Linked DNA regions of Homo sapiens: region 1 is linked to region 2. Evidence: promoter capture Hi-C in human tissues and cell types (Jung and others, 2019). All regions are on one chromosome and are shown on one strand. Each heading gives the region's core, a stretch centred on a gene start or on the middle of the fragment in contact. The rest is flanking DNA. Distances are from core to core; before and after follow the strand shown. Region 1 has its middle 5.2 kb from the start of OR7G3. Region 2 holds the start of MRPL4 (mitochondrial ribosomal protein L4).

Region 1 (4,872 bases), core at 476-2,975, 1.1 Mb after region 2:
ACCAGCCTGGCCAACATGGTGAAACCCCATCTCTATGAAAAATACAAAAATTAGCCAGACGTTGTGGCGCATATCTGTAATCCCAGCTACTCAGGAGGCTGAGGCATGAGAATCGCTTGAACCTGGGAGGCGGAGGTTGCAGTGAGCCAAGATCGCACCACTGCATTCCAGCCTGGGCGACAGAGCAAGACTCCATCTCATGAAAAACAAACAAACAAACAAAAATGAAAAAAACAAAAACATCCTGACAAGTAAAGCTAGGGAAGGCCATGAAGAGATTTATTTCACTTGCATGCCTAATAACAAAAACTATCACAAGACTACAAAAACTATCACGAGACGACAAAAACTATCACGAGACGACAAAAACCACAACCTTGCACAAAAGGCTGTTGCAACCTTACACAAAAAATATTTCTGCAAGTACATCTGCCCAGCAACTGCCTGTCCAGCTTCAGACTGGCATCACCCTTGTTATTAGTTATTACTGTGAAGGATAATTATTTCAAAACAATTATGTAACCTTCCTCATTTTTCCATTAAAAAACTTTGTCTTCCTTTACCTCCTTGAATGCATACATAGTTTATGATGGCACGCGTATCGCTATTGCAATGCTTTCTTTGGCAATAAACATCATTTTCTTTTAGATAGCCTCTTTCTGTTATTTAGGTTGACTATCTATAGTTATATTGATTTATGTTTGTGCTGTTGAATTTCAAAGGAATTGAAATCAATATGCTGAAGAGATATCTGCACTCTCATGTTCATTGCAGTATTAGTCACAATAGCCAGGAAATGTAATCAACCTGAATGTCCATCAACATATAAGTGGATAAAGAAAATGTGGTATGGCAGGCACGGTGGCTCACGCCTGTAATCCCAGCACTTTGGGAGCCTGAGGTAGGTAGATTACTTGAGGTCAGGAGTTCAAGACTAGCCTGGCCAACATGGTGAAACCGTGTCTCCACTAAAAATACAAAAATTAGCCAGGCATGATGACGTATGCCTGTAATCCCAGCTACTCAGGAGGCTGAGGCAGGAGAATCACTTGAACCCAGGAGGCGGAGGTTGCAGTGAGCCGAGATCGCACCACTGCACTCTAGCCTGGGCAACAGAGTGAGACTTTGTCTGGAAAAGAAAAAGAAAATGTGGTATATGATAGAGTACTATGCACCCTTTAAAAAGAAGGAAATTCTGTCATTCGCCACAACATGGAGGAACCTGGAGAACATTATGCTAAGTGAAATAAGCCAGGTACAGAAAGACAAATACTGCATGATCTCAACCATGTGTAGAATCCAAAAGAGCTGATCTCATAAAATCAGAATAAAATAATGGCTACTGCAGTCAGGCACGGTGGCTGATGCCTGTAATCCCAGCACTTTGGGAGGCCGAGGCGGGTGGATCACGAGGTTAGGAGTTCAAGACCAGCCTGCCCAACATGGTGAAACACTGTCTCTACTAAAAATACAAAAATTATCCGGGTGTGGTGACGCTTGCTTGTAGTCCCAGCTACTCAGGAGGCTGAGGCAGGAGAATCACTTGAACCTGGGAGGCGGAGGTTGCAGTGAGCCGAGATCATGCCACTGCACTCCAGCTTGGGTGACAGAGGGAGACTCCGACTCAAAAAAAAAAAAAAAAAAACAATAAAAATAAATAAATAAAAATAACTTTCTGGTCTATTTTGCAACTTGCATATTTGGTGATATTCTTCTCTCTGGGGTCATGTTTTCTTATTCTCAAATAGCCTTGTCTGTTTTGAGAATGCCGTCAGCAAGTAATAAAGCTTTTTTCAGCTGTGAGTCTCACCTCCCATTTGTTTCCCGATTCTACAGGGCGGGTTGGGGGGTGTACATTAGCTCTGCCGTTTCTGACTCTTCAAGGAGGGCTGCGGTGGCTTCAGTGATGTACACAGTGGTCACACCTATTATGAACCCCTTTATCTACAGCCTGAGGAACAGAGATATGAAGAGAGCCTCGGGGAAACTCATTGGTAGGATAACTTCTCTTCCTGATTATGTTGTCCACTTTGGACTTGGGATTCAAAGTGGGTCAAAGACACAGAAATACTGGTGAGCCAGAATGCCTGACTGATCTATCACTGAGTTTTCTAAAATGATTAGATAACATAGTGGGTAAGTACATTTTAACTTGGGGTTGAAACATCACTTGTTCTTTGTGTGTAGCTCTGTGATTGTACGAAAACGAGTTCCACGGCCGGGCGCGGTGGCTCACGTCTGTAATCCCAGCACTTTGGGAGGCCGAGGCGGGAGGATCACGAGGTCAGGAGATCGAGACCATCCTGGCTAACACGGTGAAACCCCGTCTCGAATAAGAATACAAAAAATTAGCCGGGCGTGGTGGCGGGCACCCGTAGTCCCAGCTACTTGGGAGGCTGAAGCGGGTGAATGGCGTGAACCCAGGAGGCGGAGCTTGCAGTGACCTGAGATGCCGCACTGCACTCCAGCCTGGGCGACAGAGCGAGACTCCGTCTCAAAATAAATAAATAAATAAATAAAAATTAAAAATAAATAATAAAAAAAAATTAGTTCCATTCTCCAAGCTCAGTTTTTCTCTTTTTCTTTTTCTTTTTCTTTCTTTCTTTTTTTTTTTTTTTTGAGACAGAGTCTGTTCTGTCACCCAGGCTGGAGTGCAGTGGTGCAGTCTCGGCTCACTGTAGCCTCCGCCTCCTAGGTTCAAGCAATTCTCATGCTTCAGTCTCCGGAGTAACAAGGATTACAGGCAAGCATCACCACGCCCAGCTAATTTTTTTCTATTTTTAGTAGAGACGGGGTTTCGCCATGTTGGCCAGGGTGATCTCGAACTCCTGGGATCAAGAGATTCTCCCGCCTCGGCCTCCCAACGTGCTGGGATTACAGGCCTGAGTCACCAGGCCGACCACCACCACATTTCTTATCAACCCTGGGACAACACATTCTACCCTTAACGCTACTTCATTTCCTGCTCACTTTCCACAGAGTCAGCAAACTTTCCCCAAGGTGGTATCTGAACACTTGCCTCATGACTTTTCCCTTTCTGAGTCTCTGAACATTTCAATTTTTTCTTTATTTTGGTTTTAGAGACACAATCTTGCTGTGTTGCCCAGGCTGGAGAACCAGAAATAGAAATAAAACTAATTTTTGTGACTTTCAATGTGATAAAGCAATAAGATGAGAAAACTTTTATTAATTTCTGGTTCAAAGACATATTTTAGTGTGACATAATCATAAATATTCATGTAATAGTAGTGCCAGTAACAACCAAGAAAAAAACAGAGAAAATTTATCAAAAAATAGCTACAACCAAAGGCTCACATCCAAGAAGCAACTGAAGTAGCTTACACACCTCCAGAAAAAGATTTTACTCTCTTTTAAAATGATTTCTAGAAATAACTGTTTTTTAAAAATCCTGAATAGCCAAGATAACCCTATGCAAAAGGAACAAAGCTGGAGGCATCACACTATCTGACTCCAAACTACACTACAGGGCTACAGTAATCAAAACAGCATGGTTCTTGTACAAGAACAGACAAATAGACCAATGGAACGGAATAGAGAACCCAGAAATAAGACCGCACACCTTCAACTATCTGATCTTTGACAAACCTGACAAAAACAAGCAATGGGAAAAGGATTCCCTACTCAATCAATGGTGCTGGGATAACTGGCTAGCCATATGCAGAAGATTGAAACTGTACCCCTTCCTTAAATTATATACAAAAATTAACTTAAGACAGATTAAAGACTTAAATGTAAAACCCAAAACTATAAATACCCCAGAAGACAACCTAGGTAATACCATTTAGAACATAGGCACGAGCAAAGATTTCATGATGAAGACACCAAAAGCAACTGCAACAAAAGCAAAAATTGGCAAATGGGATCTAATTAAACTAGAGAGCTTCTAAACAGCGAAAGAAACTATCATCACAGTGAACAAACAACCTACAGAATGGGAGAAAATTTTTGCAATCTATCCATCTGATGAAGGTCTAATATCCAGCATCTTTAAGGAACTTAAACCAATTTACAAGAAAAAAAAACCATTTAAAAAGTGAGCAAAGAACATGAACAGACATTTTTCAAAAGAAGACATATAGGCGGCCAACAATCATATAAAAAAAAGCTCAATATCACTGATCATTAGGGAAATGCAAATCAAAACCACAGTGAGATATCATCTCACATCAATCAGAATGGCTATTACTAAAAAGCCAAAAAATAACAGATGCTGGCAAGGCTGTGGAGAAAAAGGAACACTTATACACTGTCAGTGGGAGTGTAAATTAGTTCAACCATTGTGGAAGGCAGTGTGGGAATTCCTCAGAGACCTAAAGACAGAATACCATTAGACCCAGCAATCCCATTACTGGGTATGTACCCAAAGGAATATGAATCATTGTACTATAAAGACACAAGCACACATTATGTTCATTGCAGCACTATTCACAATAGCAAAGACATGGAATCAATCTAAATGCCCATCACTGATAGAATGGATAAAGAAAATGTGGTACATACACACCATAGAATACTATGCAGCCATAAAAAAGAATGAGATCATGTTCTTTGCAGGAAAATGGATGGAGCTGGATGCCATTATCCTTAGCAAACTAGTGTAGGAACAGAAAACCAAAGACCACGTGTTCTCACTTATAAGTGGGAGCTAAATGATGAGAACATATGGACACATAGAGGGGAAAAACATACACTGTGGCCTATTGAAGGGTGAAGGGCTGGAGGAGGCAGGGATCAGGAAAAATAACTAATGGGTACCAGGCTCAATACCTGGGTAATGAAATAATTGGTACAACAAACTCCCATGACACAAGTTTGCCTATGTACAAACTTGCATATGTGCCCCTGAATTAA
Region 2 (4,773 bases), core at 1,582-4,081:
GTTCCTTGAGGTCAGGAGTTTGAGACCAGCCTGACCAACATGGTGAAACTCCATCTCTACTAAAAATACAAAAATTAGCCTGCATGGTGGTGCACACCTGTAATCCCAGCTACTCAGGAGGCAGAGGCAGGAGAATCGCTTGAACCCAGGAAGCGGAGGTTGCAGTGAACCAAGATTGCGCCACTGCACTCCAGCCTGGGTGACAGAGTGAGACTCCATCTCCATCTCAAAAACAAACAAAAAAAAGAGAACCAAAAATGGACCCATCGGTGAATAGTTCAGGAGACAGATGAGGCCCCAGCCGAGCAGTCCAGAGAAAACCCAGCGATGGGCTTCCTCTGGGTCCTATCCCCAACCTCCCCAGGAAGCTCCTTCCCACCACCTTGCTCCATTTAGGCACTCACAATTCTCTTGAAGTTCTTCTGCCACATAGCAACCTGGTGCAGTATGTCCAGCCTGCGGGGAGGAAGGACACATGAGAAGCCCAACTCTGCTTCAAACGCTCCCACCCCACTATAGGAAAACCCAGGATTCTCCCTTCTGCCTCCAGGGCCCTGGGCGATTTGCCTCTGCCCCTCACTGACCCCATCTTGAAATTCTGCCTCAGGGCCTTGGCACTTGCTGTTCCCTCTGCCTGAAACACTCTTCTCCTGGATGGTTCTTTCTCAGCCTACAGGTAGCAGCTCCAATAACTGCTGAAAGGTACCTTCTAAAGAAAGAGCCACCCTGACCAGGTGCAGTGGCTCATGCCTGGAATCCTGGCACTTTGGGAGGCCAAGGCAGGTGGATCACTTGAGGCAAGGAGTAAGACCAGCCTGGGCAACATGGCAAAGTGATGTCTCTCCAAAATATACAAAGATTAGCTGGGCACGGTGGTACATGTCTGTCATTCTGGCTACTCGGGAGGCTGAGGCATGAGAATTAGTAGAACCCAGGAGGCGGAGGTTGAAGTGAGCTGAGAGCATGCCATTGCACTCCAGCCTGGGCGACAAGAGCGAAACTTCATCTCAGAAAAAAAAAGCCACCCCTTCTTCCTTGTTTTTCCTACCATTACTTTTTTCCTGCTATTACACTTCACTTATTGCCACCTTCTTCAGGGACTGGTTTTCCTCTCTAGTTCTATACCATTCCATACAGTCACATACTCAACATCTGAAACATGGCCAGTGCCCCATGCTACAATGTGATTTCGACATAGTTTTAAATACAGGTTAAATACATTATTGAAATCAATTTCACCTGTTTTTTTTTTTGAGATGGAGTCTGTCTCTGTCGCCCAGGCTGGAGTGCAGTAGTATAATCACGGCTCACTGCAACCTCCATCTCCCCAGGTGCAAGCGATTCTCATGCCTCAGCCTCCTGAGTAGCTGGGACTACAGGCTTGCACTAAGACGTCCGGCTAATTTTTGTATTTTTGGTAGAGACGGGGTTTCATCATGTTGGCCAGGCTGGTCTGCAACTCCTGGTTTCAAGTGATCCGCCCACCTCGGCCTCCCAATGTGCTGGGATTACAGATGTGAGCCACAGTAACTGGCCCCTACATTTTCTTTTCTTTCTTTTTTTTTTTTTTTTTTGAGACAGAGTGTTGCCCAGGATGGAGTGCAGTGGCGCGATCTCGGCTCACTGCAAGCTCCGCCTCCCGGGTTCACGCCATTCTCTTGCCTCAGCCTCCAGAGTACCTGGGACTACAGACGCCCGCCACCACGCCCGGCTAATTTTTTTTTGTATTTTTAGTAGAGACGGGGTTTCACCATGTTAGCCAGGATGGTCTCGATCTCCTGACCTCGTGATCCGCCCGCCTTGGCCTCCCAAAGTGCTGGGATTACAGGCGTGAGCCACTGCGCCCAGGGTGGCCCCTACATTTTCTTAGAGATGTTATGAACAGCAGGGTAACTAAAATGCAAACAGCCTCTTCCAGGCACCGAGGAATGGTTTAGTCTTTTTAGTGCTCTTATTTGCAAAAACCAGTTAACAAAGATTATCAACATTTCTATAGAACTTATTATGTGCCAGAATTAAGTCATTTATTCATCACAGCAACCTCCCGACCGCTGACAAAATAGGGACACTGAGGGACAAGAGGGGAAGGCAGGATTTGAACCTAATCAGTCGGGCTCCAGAATTCTGTCTCCCTAACCCTTAGATGATGTCACCTCTCAGGCTTCAATCTCACACAGCGCTACAGCAGGGGAAACTGTCATCATTCCCCTTTGACAGGTGGAGAAACGGAGGCTGTAGAAATACAGCACTTTCCCAAGGGTACAAGCCCAAAGTCATCGTGACTCCTGAAATCCCGCTCTTCATCCCTCTGCCACTCAGTTCACCATTACAGCCCTCGCTCACCTGGGCGCGGTGGCGAAAACATCGGGGTGCAGGTCGGCCAGGCCCACGCGCTCCTGCTCGAAGCCCCGCAAGGACTCGACCCAGGCCTGCACTGGGCGTCGATGAGTGGGTACCGGGAGCTCGACTTTGCGCAGCACGGGCTCCGGGAGACCTGGAGCGATTGCGGGGGTCAGAGGTTAGGGTCAAGGGTCAGACCTCTCTGTCGCCGCCCCTCCTGGAGCCACCCCGGTTGCCTTACCCTCGCTCGCCACCTGCTCCGGGTTCTCGGTCGCACGCGCTGCCTCTTCCGCCAGGGAACTCAGGCCCTGCAAGGGTTGGGCGAAAGTGAGAGACGACCCCTGGACACCCCCAAATTTCATCCTTCGACCACGCCTCCAGCCCCTGGCCTCACCTGGCTGCCGGTAGGCCGAAGCCAGGCCCGCGCCCCGGCCCGGACGAACTGCAGCATCGCCGCGCAGCCTCCCACGCCGCGGGAGGTCAAGGCCACTGGAGCCTCGCGAGGCGCCGCTGGATGACGTCACGCACGCGACGCCGCCCTACCCGCCGCGACTCCGCGCTGGAAAGCGGGGTGTGCAAAACCGAAGATGGAGGGGGTCCGACCCGGCGTGCCCAGACCTCCACCCCAGGACTAACCCCCAGACCCAATTTTCACTCCTGCCTCAAGGACCCTCCGTAACACTGGGGAACGCGACCTCACAGCAAGAAGACCCAGCTTCCGTAGGCCTAGCCTACTTTGGGTCCCGCCTCCGACGAGCCGGTGCAGGAATTCAGCCAATGAGACCTCTCTGGCCCAATTCAGCCAATGACTGTTAAGCCTGAAGGAGTGACCCCCGCCCATAAGTGGGCAGTTCTGGAGTGAGCAACTAAGGAATACAGCCAATAACGCTTAAACTTTTGCTGTTGGTCACGCCCACCGGGCCACGCCTTCATCCCGCCTCCAAGGCTGTCGGAGATGGTTTTTTCTTTATCCAGTTATGTGGTTTTGTTTTTTTATTTGTTTTTTTGTTTTTGTTTTTGTTTTTGTTTTTGTTTTTTTTGAGACGGAGTCTTGCTCTGTTGCCCAGGCTGGAGTGCAGTGGCGCGATCTCGGCTCACTGCAAGCTCCGCCTCCTGGGTTCACGCCATTCTCCTGCCTCAGCCTCCCGAGTAGCTGGGACTGCAGGCGCCCGCCACCACGCCTGGCTAATTTTTTGTATTTTTAGTAGAGACGGGTATCACCGCGTTAGCCAGGATGGTCTCGATCTCCTGACCTCGTGATCCTCCCGCCTCAGCCTTCCAAAGTGCTGGGATTACAGGCGTGAGCCACCGTGCCTGGCGTTTTTTCATTTGTTTAAAGGCAGGGCCTTATTGCCCTCAGAAAGCCTTCAGGATTGGGCCTGCCAGACCATGCCTCCCAGTTTAGATTCCCCAGGGCAGGGCCATGTCCCCCCGAAACCCCTCAGATTAGGTATTTGTGTCCCTTACCCCCTAGACCAGGGTCCTCTCCCCTACCCCCTTAAACCAGGTCCCGTCCCCTCTCAGACCTTCCAGGGCTCTCCAAGGACAGAACAAAGTGGGGAGTCCACAGATCCTGGAGTGCCTCCCTTGTCGCCCCCTAACAAATCCGAATGCTTATTTTTAGTTTCTTTGTTTTGGTTTTTAGAGACAAGGTCTTCCTCTGTCGCCCAGGCTGGAGTGCAATGGGCAAGATCATGGCTTACTGCAGCCTCGACCTCCAGAGCTCAAGGGATTCTCCTGCCTCTGTCTCCTGAGTAGCTGGTCTACAGGTACGCAAGCCCGGCTCATTTTTGTATTGTATTTTTTTATTTTGTATTTGTATTTTGAGATGGAGTATCGCTCTGTCGCCCAGGCCGGAGTGCAGTGGTGTGAGATCGCACATCTCGGCCTCCCGGGTTCAAGCGATTCCCTGCCTCAGCTTACCGAGTAGCTGGGACTACAGGCGCCCGCCACCACACCTGGCTAACTTTTTGTATTTTTAGTAGAGAGGGGGTTTCACCGTGTTAGCCAGGATGGTCTCAATCTCCTGACCTCGTGATCCGCCCGCCTCGGCTTCCCAAAGTGCTGGGATTACAGGCGTGAGCCACCGAGCCCGGCCCTAATTTTCGTGTTTTTATTAGAGACAGTGTGGCACCACGTTGGCCAGGCTGGTCTTGAACTCCTGACCTCAGGTGATCCACCCGCCTCGGCCTCCCAAAGTGCTGGGATTACAGGCCTGAGCCACCGCGCCCGGCCTAATTTTTTTTTTGTAGAGATGGCGGGGGGTGGGTCTCCCAATGTTGCCCAGGCTGGTCTTGAACTCCTGGGCTCAAGCAATTCTCCCGCATTGGTCCCCCAAAGTGCTGGGATTACAGGCATGAGCTACTGTGGCCCACCCATTTTTAGGTTCTTTACCATGTTCCCGATAGACCTCCAGGGGGCGCCACCGGATCA

The links. Contacts are between HindIII fragments. The study calls those that stand out against the background at their distance.
Region 1: a contact is called between a fragment that was not itself captured here and the fragment with the promoter of MRPL4 in region 2, in 1 of the 25 tissues and cell types used here (pancreas).

The regions. Positions count from the first base shown.
Region 1 is chr19:9,119,274-9,124,145 of GRCh38, reverse strand. It overlaps the pseudogene OR7G15P. Among named protein-coding and RNA genes, the nearest start is that of OR7G3, 5.2 kb to the left of the region's middle. The HindIII fragment of the contact is 3,758 bases long and covers 1-3,604 here.
Region 2 is chr19:10,250,272-10,255,044 of GRCh38, reverse strand. MRPL4 (mitochondrial ribosomal protein L4) reads right to left here and starts at 2,831. Exons shown (of 9, transcript NM_015956.3): 1 at 2,735-2,831; 2 at 2,582-2,648; 3 at 2,344-2,494; 4 at 405-456. The coding sequence starts at 2,791. RefSeq lists enhancers at 2,329-2,902, 2,759-3,168, 3,299-3,448, 2,903-3,476. The HindIII fragment of the contact is 13,002 bases long and covers 1-4,773 here.